2 separate regions of the Homo sapiens genome follow, and region 2 is linked to region 1. The links are contacts of gene promoters, found by promoter capture Hi-C in blood cells and fetal thymus (Javierre and others, 2016). All regions are on one chromosome and are shown on one strand. The core of a region is centred on a gene start or on the middle of the fragment in contact, and the rest is flanking DNA. Distances in the headings are between cores, read along the strand shown.

Region 1 (5,264 bases), core at 1,618-4,117:
TTTTGTATTTATTTACTCATAGAAATATTTGCAATACCTATAACCAACAAAGGACTCGTATCTGATATTCATAAAGAACTCCTACAAAGTGGTAAGACAGGGCTGGGCTCAGTGGTTCACACCTATAATCCCAGCACTTTGGGAGGCCAAGGCGGGCGGATCACTTGAGGTCAGGAGTTAGAGACCAGCCTGGCCAACATGGTGAAACGCTGTCTCTATCAAAAATACAAAAATTAGCCTGTCATGGTGGCATGTGCCTGTAGTCCCAGCTACTCAGGAGACTGAGGCAGGAGAATCACTTGAACCCAAGAGGTTCCAGCCTAGGCAACAGAGCAAGATACCATCTCAAAAAAAAAAAAAAAAAGTAGTAAGACAGAAGGAATAGAATAATAGAAAATGGACATGATACTTGAACAGATATCCAAGGGTCAAATAAATGCATGGAAAGGTGGTCAACTTCATTGGTTATCAGGATAAAGCAAATTTAAACTACAATACCACTATACACCCACCAGAATGGCTAAATTTTTTAATTTTTCTAGATTGACAATATCAAGTGTTAATGAGAATATAGAGCAACTGGAACACTAAGACGCTGCTGGCAGGAGTGTAAATTAATATGAGCACTTTGAAAAATTGTTTAGTCGCATTTGCTAAAGCTAAAAATATGCATATCCTTTTATGACCCAGTAATTCTATTCCTAGGTATATATCTAGTATAAATATGAACGTAAGTGTACCAAAGGACATGAACAAAAACGTTATCGCAGCCTTATTCATAATAACCCCAAAGTAGGAACAACCAAAATGTCCGTCAACAGAATAACAGATAAATTGTGGTATATTTATTTAATGGCATACCGTACGGCAATGAAAACAAATAAGCTACTGCTACCACAATGTTTTGGATGAGTTTCATAAACATAGTATTGAGTGAGAGAAGCCAGACACAAAATAATACCTACTGAATGGTTCCATGTATATAAAGTTCAGAAGTAAGCAAAACTAACCTGTAGTGTTAGATAAACGTTACTTTTGAGAAGGAGTGTGGCATAGTCACCAGGAGCGGATAGAAGGAGGGTATCTGGGATGCCAATAATGATCTCGTTCTAGATCTGGATGGTGGTCATATGGGGGTGTTCACTGTGTCATCATTTGTTGACCTGTACACTTAGGTTTCGTGTTCCTTTCCTAAATGCCTGGTATATTTCAATTAAAAAAATACACACAGGAGAGGGGAACAGTTTTCGAGTAAGTAAAAACACGGAAGGTAGAAAGGAAATAGGAGAGAGATCAAGATTTTATACACAGGTAGCTGAGCTGTGGCCAGATTAAATGGGGTAGTGGAGGGGAGGGAACTGTTGAATAGAACAGGGCAGAAGTTGCCTCCAGCCCAACCAAAGTTCCTCCAGATACATCAGCCTTAATTCCCCACCCAACCCCACACCCCGTATTCACAAACCTCATCTTTCTGGACAAGTCCCAGCATTTCCTAGACTAGCAGCTACTTCTCCTGGCAGAAAAACCCAGTATTTGAGGCCAAAACTGGGGTCTGAGACACTGATATTTTGCTCTAGTAGGTCCTGTGAGTCTGCAGGCCCTTGATGCAAATGCTCCAGAGCTGATCTGGAATCATCCTGGGGGTACTGGTTTGGGGTGGGTGAGGGGAACAGGGTTTGGTATGTGTATTTGTCATCCTTATCAAAAGGAATGACCTGCTCAGGTTGCTGTGTGTGCTCTTGTGAGCACGTGCCCAAAGCTTCATACACAGCACTGCGATCTCTTCTCCCCAGGCACATCTCCGCTCCAAACCCTATTCAGGGGTCTAGAGCCATGTTCGAATGCCCCCGGGCTACTTTCAGGGAGGAAAAGGACAGGAAGGAACCGTTGGTCACAGGTTCCACTGACAAGAGGGGAAAACTTGGGAGTGGGGGTTCCTTTATGAGGGAGGTCACACCCCCTGCACAAAAACATCCCAAAGAGAACTGGCATTGAGCTTGTGTTGGAGAGGTGGAGATACCCCAGGGAGGAAGTGGCGAAAGGTGAGCATGGGAACACCCCTCTTTGATCCCACAAGGTGCGTCAGGGAAAGTTGGATTTCATTTAGTCCGGGATGGTGACATCTCTCCGCACGCTGCCACCAGGCTCAGTGGGTCAGAGGAAGTGAGGCTCCCCTCCTCTCCGACCTCAGGTGATGCGTGTGCGACCCCAGCCATGGGTCTGACCTCCTTTCGCTCCCGCCCGCCAGTCTCCACCCCTTTCAAGGCCGGGACTTTTTTAAGGCCGGATTCGTCAGGGGTGAGCCATTTGCTCAAGGAACGCGGAATCTGGAGGGAGCCTAAAGTGACGAGCCGGCGGGAGAAGAGCAAGGTAGGGACTGTTCTGTCCGGGTACCAAGTGGGAGGAGGGAGCACGCGGCTGGCTGCTTGAGCCCGGGGGTCAGAGGTGGCTGGCTGGCTGGCTCCACAGGGACGTTTACCGGTCTTCCCGAAGGCCAGAGGCTCCAAGGAAACATCCAGAGGCAGGAGAGGACGCGCACTGTCGCACACGCCTCTCAAAGTCTGCTGGGGCTCCGACGCGGCGCAGCGGGCCCGGGGGCGGTAGCACCACGCAGCGAGCCCGGGCAGCGGGCCCCTCGGACCCCGGGCCGATGGGCGCTGGGACCCGCGCGCTCCAGGCGCATGGAGCCGGCTCCCGGTTCCCGTCACTCCTCCTACTGCGTTTCCCCGGCGCCCCGCCTCCTGGGCACGAAGCGAAGGAAGGGGGCCGGGCCGAGGTTGATCCCGCCCCCTCCCCAGTCCCTGATTGGCTGCTGCTGTTGTCCATCCGAGAATCTATTTTTGATGGAGCGGGGGGGGTGCCACCCAGTCTGCCCCAGATCACGTTTGCCACCGGCAGCCAACCAGTTGGGCCCGAGTCCGCGGGCAAGAAGCGATTGGGGGCGCGTGAGCTCGGCTCCCCGGTCCCCCGTCCGGGTGCCCCCCCGCCGGGCCCGAAGCGATATATCCTGCCCTCCCCGGCCACCTCCCCCGCGTGGAAGCGGAGCGGCGGCCTCGCTGTAACGCAGAAGCGAAATGTAGCGAGCCGGGTGTCGCGGCTGGACGCTCGCCTTGGCTGGGGGTGTGGGGGGGCACGCCGGGGGCCAAGGAGGACTGTCGAGGAGGAGTGATGAGAAGAGGGGGTGCCCTGCACCCCCCGAGACCACGGGCCACGCTGCCACTTGCCAGGCGCCCCCCTTCCTCCCAGGCGAGGGGCAGGTCAGTCCTGTGGGGTCCTGGGGCGGGGAGGGGGTGGTGGAGGGCGGCAGTCCTGGCGCGCAGCGCATTTGCTGAATCTGAGTGGTGGAGAGACTGAGGAGGCCACCCAGTTACTTTCTCTCCCTCCTCGGGGTTGGGGATACTAAAATGGGTCTTTTTTGTCCCCGCCTGGGAGGAGGGGATAGGGCGTCCTGGTTCACTTTTGCTTCTTTCGTCCCAGGGCCTTAGGCCTGTCTGAAGTCTCTTTACAGGGGGAGTGGTGAGGGAGGACTGGCTTCCCCTCCTGGGAGCCCCCTCTCAGGTTCAGTGGCCTGCCAGGAACACAGGAGGGAGGCGGGGGTGTCAGCTTTTAGCGGACTCAGAAACTTTTCTGGCATAGGGGCACTGGACTCAGAGGTTTCCTCCTGGATCTCTGGTGAGGGAGTTTGAAAGAACCACAGTACTGTGTTTAAGGAGATTGGAAAAGGGAGTCCTGGTGGGTGACTGAATTGATAGAGGAAACAGTTCTCCTGGGCCAGTTCCTGGGGTTTGATACCTCCTTTCCTAAACTGAACTTGACTAATTGTGTGTGTTTGGAATACTTAAGGACCTGTTCCTCTTACCTGGTGGAACTCTCTTTAAATTTATTTTTTACGAATAAGAGCTCTTCTGGTGAAATGGAATAGGATGGGAGTCCATCAGGAATTAGGAAGCCTGGGGATTCCTTTAGGCAGAGAAGTGGAGCCATTACAGCTAAAGAGATGCATTTGGAGCAAGTGCATATTGGCTTACGGTGCTTTGGTTTTTGTTTTGGGTTTTTTTTATTGCTACTTTTGTTTTTTTGTTTTTGTTTCTAAGAATTCCACTATATCCAACTCTCAGTAACCCTGGGGAACAGGAGGAGCCTAATTAACTGAAATGCGTGGGTAATAAGCAATCGTTTTATGCTCTGTCCCTTCTAACTGAGATAACTCCCTTGTCCTATCTGACAAGCTCACAGGGCCAAGAGCAGGGGGAGACGGGGAGAGACAGAGGCCTGGATCCGAGTCAGCTGTCTGAGCTCTTTGTAACACTGTTGACTCTCAAGGGCAGGAGTGGGTAGGCCTCTGGCTCTTGGCCTTGGTCTGGCAGGCTTGCCCCACTGCCCAGGGAGTCCTCCTAGCTTTGTTTTGTTTTCTCAGAAGCTAGAACGATCTGGGGTCTGGGGGACTTCACTCAGCAATCAGTTTCTCCCTATTTCTTTGCCCTGTGTGGCTGTCTTTCTGTTGCTGTCTTGTGATGATAAGCAGTCACTTTATACAGGGGTGGCTGTGTGGCAGGGAGTTTGTGACTGAATTTGTAACTGAACCCCACTTAAATAATGCAGGGTTCTTAATGGGCATTCAAGAAGGGGTCTTGCTGAGGACACACCTACCCACCCCCAGTTGCTGAGGAAACAGTGCAGAGGGCTTCTGCACAGCATCTTCCCAATCCCAGGCTGGTCACATCTCATTGCTGGTGACCACGGTGGTGATCCCTCAGGAGGGTTGCTGGTGGGGAGGATGGCGGGGATAGCTCCTGCTGAGCCTCCAGATGGAGCAGTGCAGGACTGAGTAATTTTTGCGGAAAAAGGGAGGCAAATAGCAAACTCTATAGCTATATGATGAACTCCTAACTTCCTTGGGGGGAAATTCTCCCAGTACAAGCTGTCCTTTGCTATAGTGTAATGTTCTTTTTCTTTTCTTTCTCCTTCCCACATAAGGTGTTCCACACTGATTCTCGTGACTTTAAGGACCAGGGATTTGAAGAGGTATTAGCTCTTCCCAGGAAGGGAGGAAGTTTCTGGAAGAGAAGGGAAAGACGGCAGACGCTGCGCTGGGACCAGCAGAGCCTGAGGAGCTGTGGGAAGCTGACAGAGCCCAGCCAAAGGAGCGGGAAGGAGCCGCAGCCCCAGGCTGGCACTGTGTTCTGAAAGATTTGAACTCAAGCTGCTTTTTACGGAAGAGGGGCCACTTCAGAGGGCACCCCAGAATTTGGTTGAGCTCTTCT
Region 2 (5,283 bases), core at 2,239-4,738, 200 kb before region 1:
AAAATCAACAAATGCCTTGAGAAATACAGCATACCAAAACTGATGCAAAAACAAAAAATAGAAAATGTGAATCTTTTAAAGATATACTCTGTTATTAAAAAATCTTTCCACAAAGAAAACTCCACGAAGAAAAGCCTCACTGATAAATTCTCTCAACACTAAAAAAAATCAGTCTTTCACAAACTCTTCCAGATATTTGACAAAGTAAAAACACTTTATAACTCATTTTATGAAACCAGCATAACTTTAATAATGAAACTTGAAAAGGACATTATAACAAAAGAAAATATAAAATTACAGACCAATCTCTTCTCTCATGAATATAGATGCAAAAGTTCTAAATGAAATACTAGCAAATAAAATCTTTTGGTATATAAAAAGATCATACCAAGGGTCATCTTTCCAGGAATTTATCATTTAACAGAATAAAAGGAGAAAAATCATATGACCAATATGATTATATTAGTAGGTTAATAACATTCAATATCTATTCATGACTTCAAGAAAAACTCTTAGCAAACTAGGAGTAGAAAGTAACTCCCTTAATCTGATAAAAATGAAGGACTTCATCTAAAAGAAGCCCACAGCAAACTTTATACTTAATGGTGAATTGTCGAGAGACTTCTCCATAAGATCAAGAATGAGACAAGGACACTCAATCTCACCACTTCTATTCAACATTGTACTGAAAATCCTAGCCAGTGCAACAAGGCAAGAAAAAAGAAATAAAGAACATTAAGATGGAAAAGGAAGAAATAACTCTGTCAATATTAATGTATGACAAGATTCCATAAGTAGAAAATCCAAAAATATCTACAGAAAGGATATTGGGATTAATATGTGAACTTAGCGAAGTTGCTGGATATGAGGTCAACATAAAAAAAATCATCTGGGGCCAGGCACAGTGGCTCACGCCTGTAATCCCAGCACTTTGGGAGGCCGAGGCAGGTGGATCATGAGGTCAGGAGTTTGAGACCAGCCTGACCAACATTTCTCTACTAAAAATACAAAAATTAGCCAGGCGTGGTGGCACACGCCTGTAGTCCCAGCTACTCAGGAGGCTGAGGCAGAAGAACTGCTTGAACCCAGGAGGTGGAGGTTGCAGTGAGCCAAGATCATGCCATGGCACTCCAGCCTGAGTGACAGAGTGAGACTCTGTCTCAAAAAAAATCATTTGGATTTATATATACAGGTTATGGATCCTTATCCCAAATGCTTGGGACCGGAAGCCTTTTAGATTTCAAATTTTTTCAGATTTTGAAATATTTGCATTATACTTACCAGTTTAGTATCCCAAATCTGAAAATCCATAATCTGTAATGCTCCAATGAGCATTTTCTTTGAGCCTCATGTTGGCACTCAAAAAGTTTTGGATTTTGAAGCACTTCAGTTTCAGATTTTCAGATTTGTGATGCTCAACCTGTAGCAAGTAAAACAAATGGCAAATAGATTTTTAATGACACTATTTATAATACTATCAAAACCATCAGCTACTTTGATGTAAATTTAACAAAAAATGTGCGAGAACTCTACTCTGATAATAGCAAACATTACTAAATAAAAGTAAAAGACTTGCATAAAAATCACAAACATTAATGAATAAAATTAAAAGAAGACCTGTATTGAAAACTAAACCATGCTCATAGATTGAATGACTCTGTTTCATTAAAAAGTCAAATTTTTTCAAATTGGTCTATACAACCAATTTTATTCCAATCAAAACAACAGCATTTTTTCTTAGACATTAGCAAACTGATTCTAACATTTATATGGATATGTAATACACCAATACAATCTTGCTGAAGAAAAACACTGGTAAATATTAAGATTTATTATAAAGTTACAGTAATGTAGACGTGTGGTGTTGGCACAGAATTTAAAAAATAAACAAATGTAACAGAACAGAAAATACAAAACTATCAACACAGTCATCTGACTTGCGTTGAACAAGATACTGCAGTATGTGGAGGAAATGATGGTATATTTATTAAATAGTGCCAGGTCATATGAATATCCAGATAGAAAAAAATAAATCTTAATTCCTACCTTACACATTATCACATTTCATATAGGTTCCAGATCGCAATGTGAAAAGTAAACAATAAAGCTTTTAGAAGAAAACATGAGAAAATGTTTTCATGACCTTAAGGTAGGCAAAATTTTCTGAAACAAGTTACAAAAAAACAGTGTACAATAAGCACATGATGAGTGACAGAAGCCAGATACCAAAGAGTTCATATGGGATGATTCCATTTATATAAAATCCAAAAAATAGGCAAAACCAATATATGTTATTAGAAGTCAGGAGACTGGCTCTTCTTGAGGAGGGGCGCAATGATTGGCAGGTGCATGAGGGCTTCTGAGGTTTGGAATGTCCTGTTTTTTGGGAATATAGCAAGCATCTTTGTGCTCATTTAGTCAAGGAAAGTTGGGAAGGAGAGGCATTAGCTTCAAGACAGAGGAAAATCCAGGAGTCAAACCCTTTGCCAGCAATCCCCTGTGCCATTCTCCTGTTCTCCTGTGGGCTTTCTCCTACCAGGTGGAAGGACTAACCGTGGTTGGCCAGCAGTTTGGAGAAAGTGTCACAGAGCCAGGCCAGACCTTTGTGGATGCAGAGTTTGATGGAATTCTGGGCCTGGGATACCCCTCCTTGGCTGTGGGAGGAGTGACTCCAGTATTTGACAACATGATGGCTCAGAACCTGGTGGACTTGCCGATGTTTTCTGTCTACATGAGCAGGTAAGGCCCATCAAGTCTGTGAGGTTAAAGTCAGTTATAACTACAGGGAGACAACACATACACTTGACTTAGCAGTCAAAAGACCTGGTTTAGGTAGCTTGGTCCATTACCAGCTGTGTGATCTTAGTCAAAACATTTAACCTCTCTGAATATTGAGGAAATGGGATTTGCTTCATCAAGTAGCTGTAAAAACACTTTGTAAACTCTACCACACTGGCTTAAATTTAAGGAATCTCTGGGATTGGTTCTTCATTGATGCTGTCACTAAATATCAAGCTCCTATTATATGCTGATTATGATGCTCACACTGGGGACCCAGTGAAACAAGAAAGACAGTACCTGCAGGAGGAGGAGGCAGAAAAAAATGAAAAGCTGACAATAAAATAATTGCATGCTGATGGATGAATAAACAAAATGTGGCATATCCAAATAATCAAATATTATTCAGCCTTAAAAAGGAAGAAAATTCTGAGACATGCTACAACATAGAAGAAACTTGAGGACATAATGCTAAGTGAAATAAGCTAGTCACAAAAAGACAAATACTGTATGATTCCACTTAGGTGAGGTACCTAGACTAGTCAAATTCATAGGCAGAAAGTAGACTGCCAGTTGCCAGAGCCTGGGGAGGGGAAGTGAGGAATTCTTAAACCGTTGTTGATGGCCTAATGGGTATAAAGTTCCAGTTCTGTAAAATGAAAGGTCTGGATTTTACAACAGTGTGAACATACTTAACACTACTGAATTGTAGACTCAAAAATGGGTAAGATAGTACATTTTATGTGACATATTTTTACAACAATTTTTAAAATTGCACATTGTTTTTGGAAAAGGTCATGAGGCTCACCTGTTTCTAGGCACTCTTGCCCGGCATCCTTGGAGGGTCATCTCCTCTTCCTCCTTACACAGGAAGGTGATTTCTGACCTTGCTGACTTTTTCCAGCTCAGACCTGGCCTGCGTTCACACTGTTTCAGCATAAGCCCATTCCTCTCATTCCCCTCTCCCACATGGAGGGTCCTGGATTTTCCCTATCAAGCTATGTTTCCTCTCCAGCATGACAGCACTCAGGACCAGGCCTAGGAAGAGCTGTGAGTAAGAGAGGCAAGTTGTCTAGACACCTCTGCTTCCCCTTGCAGAACTTCCTTCTCCCGTCGCCTGGGAAAAGTGGGCTGTAATGGAGAATATCAAGGCTTGGCAGTCAGACTGGCCTGGATTTGAATCCTGCCACTTACATTGCTTCATCTCACTGAGGCTCAGTTTCTTCCACGGACCACTAGGTTGATGTGAGTTAAATAAGTTTAGACAGATAAAATCCCCACTACACGGCCTTGCACCAAGGTAATCAACAAATGTGAGTTCCTTTCCCCACTCCCTCTGTAAAACCACTGTCCTAAAATTCCTACAGGTATTCACTCCTCTCCCTCTTTACCACCCTGATTTCAGTTTTGTATCTTTCTGATCCTTTTCCTCCTCAAAATGAATCTGTCTTAGGTCCTATTTCTCCAGAGTCCTGCTAGGTTCCAGAACATAATCTGAGAAATCAATACCAATGAAAATAAGTTTTCAGGCTCTAGTAAGTCATGATACATTCATATTAGCCTCTTTGCCTTAACATAAGGAGTGAATAACACAAAAACGCCAGGCACTGTCACAACCATAGTGGGGAAGATACTTTGGGAAAAGGTGTCTTTGGGGGTTGCTTCAAGCCACACAGTGTATACCCACCCAGGATGGTCCTGGCCTTGGTTCTGAATGACAGACCTGCTGGCCCCATTTCCCACCTCCTTAACCTTTTTATCCAAGAAGCAGAAACACATTCACAAATGGTCAAGGGGAGTTGTTTCTAACCTTGTGTCAAAAAGGCCCAGACCAATTCACTTGCAGTAGTCAGAGTCCCGGTCTCAAAGCCCAGACTGATGTTTCTGCCTACCTGTGTGCTTGGCATGAGACCAAGAAGCAAAGGGTCCTAGCTGAGGCTCACCCCTAGAGTTTTGCAGTGGCCCTTCCTGGACAGTTTGTCTTTCTCTCCATGTAGTAACCCAGAAGGTGGTGCGGGGAGCGAGCTGATTTTTGGAGGCTACGACCACTCCCATTTCTCTGGGAGCCTGAATTGGGTCCCAGTCACCAAGCAAGCTTACTGGCAGATTGCACTGGATAAGTGAGTATTCCCCATGAAGTAGTGACAGTACTAGGGGTAAACTGAAAAGAGGCACAACTCAAACCGATTTAACTGAAAAACCACTGGTCACTAGCAGAGGATGCCAGAAGCTTACTGTGGTTGGAGGTATGGAGGTGCTGAGCAAGTGTGCAGGAAGGGACCTCTGTAACCAGGGCAGCAGACACAGCTTCCTTCCTTGTACACATGGCGTGCTTTTAACTCAACATACAGTCAATACCAGTGCACAGCCTGCTCCCCTTTGTTCTTTTAACATTAACACACAAGGCAAGGGATGAGTAACATGGGGGGTTGCACAGGTGAATTGGGCTCAGATCTTGTCCTCAAAAAACTTGTACAGAAGATGAGATGCACCCAAACCACTATC

What was found. Contacts are between HindIII fragments. The CHiCAGO score rates a contact against its expected background, and 5 or more counts as called.
Region 2: a contact is called between a fragment that was not itself captured here and the fragment with the promoter of SLC41A1 in region 1, in 1 of 17 cell types (naive B cells). The highest score is 5.1, in naive B cells.

The regions. Positions count from the first base shown.
Region 1 is chr1:205,810,801-205,816,064 of GRCh38, reverse strand. SLC41A1 (solute carrier family 41 member 1) reads left to right here and starts at 2,867. Exons shown (of 11, transcript NM_173854.6): 1 at 2,867-3,257; 2 at 4,978-5,264. RefSeq lists silencers at 2,507-2,736, 2,877-3,136 and an enhancer at 2,573-3,073. The HindIII fragment of the contact is 5,321 bases long and covers 1,762-5,264 here.
Region 2 is chr1:206,013,387-206,018,669 of GRCh38, reverse strand. CTSE (cathepsin E) reads left to right here. Exons shown (of 9, transcript NM_001910.4): 5 at 2,540-2,739; 6 at 4,776-4,898. Among named protein-coding and RNA genes, the nearest start is that of CTSE, 7.9 kb to the left of the region's middle. The HindIII fragment of the contact is 2,766 bases long and covers 2,106-4,871 here.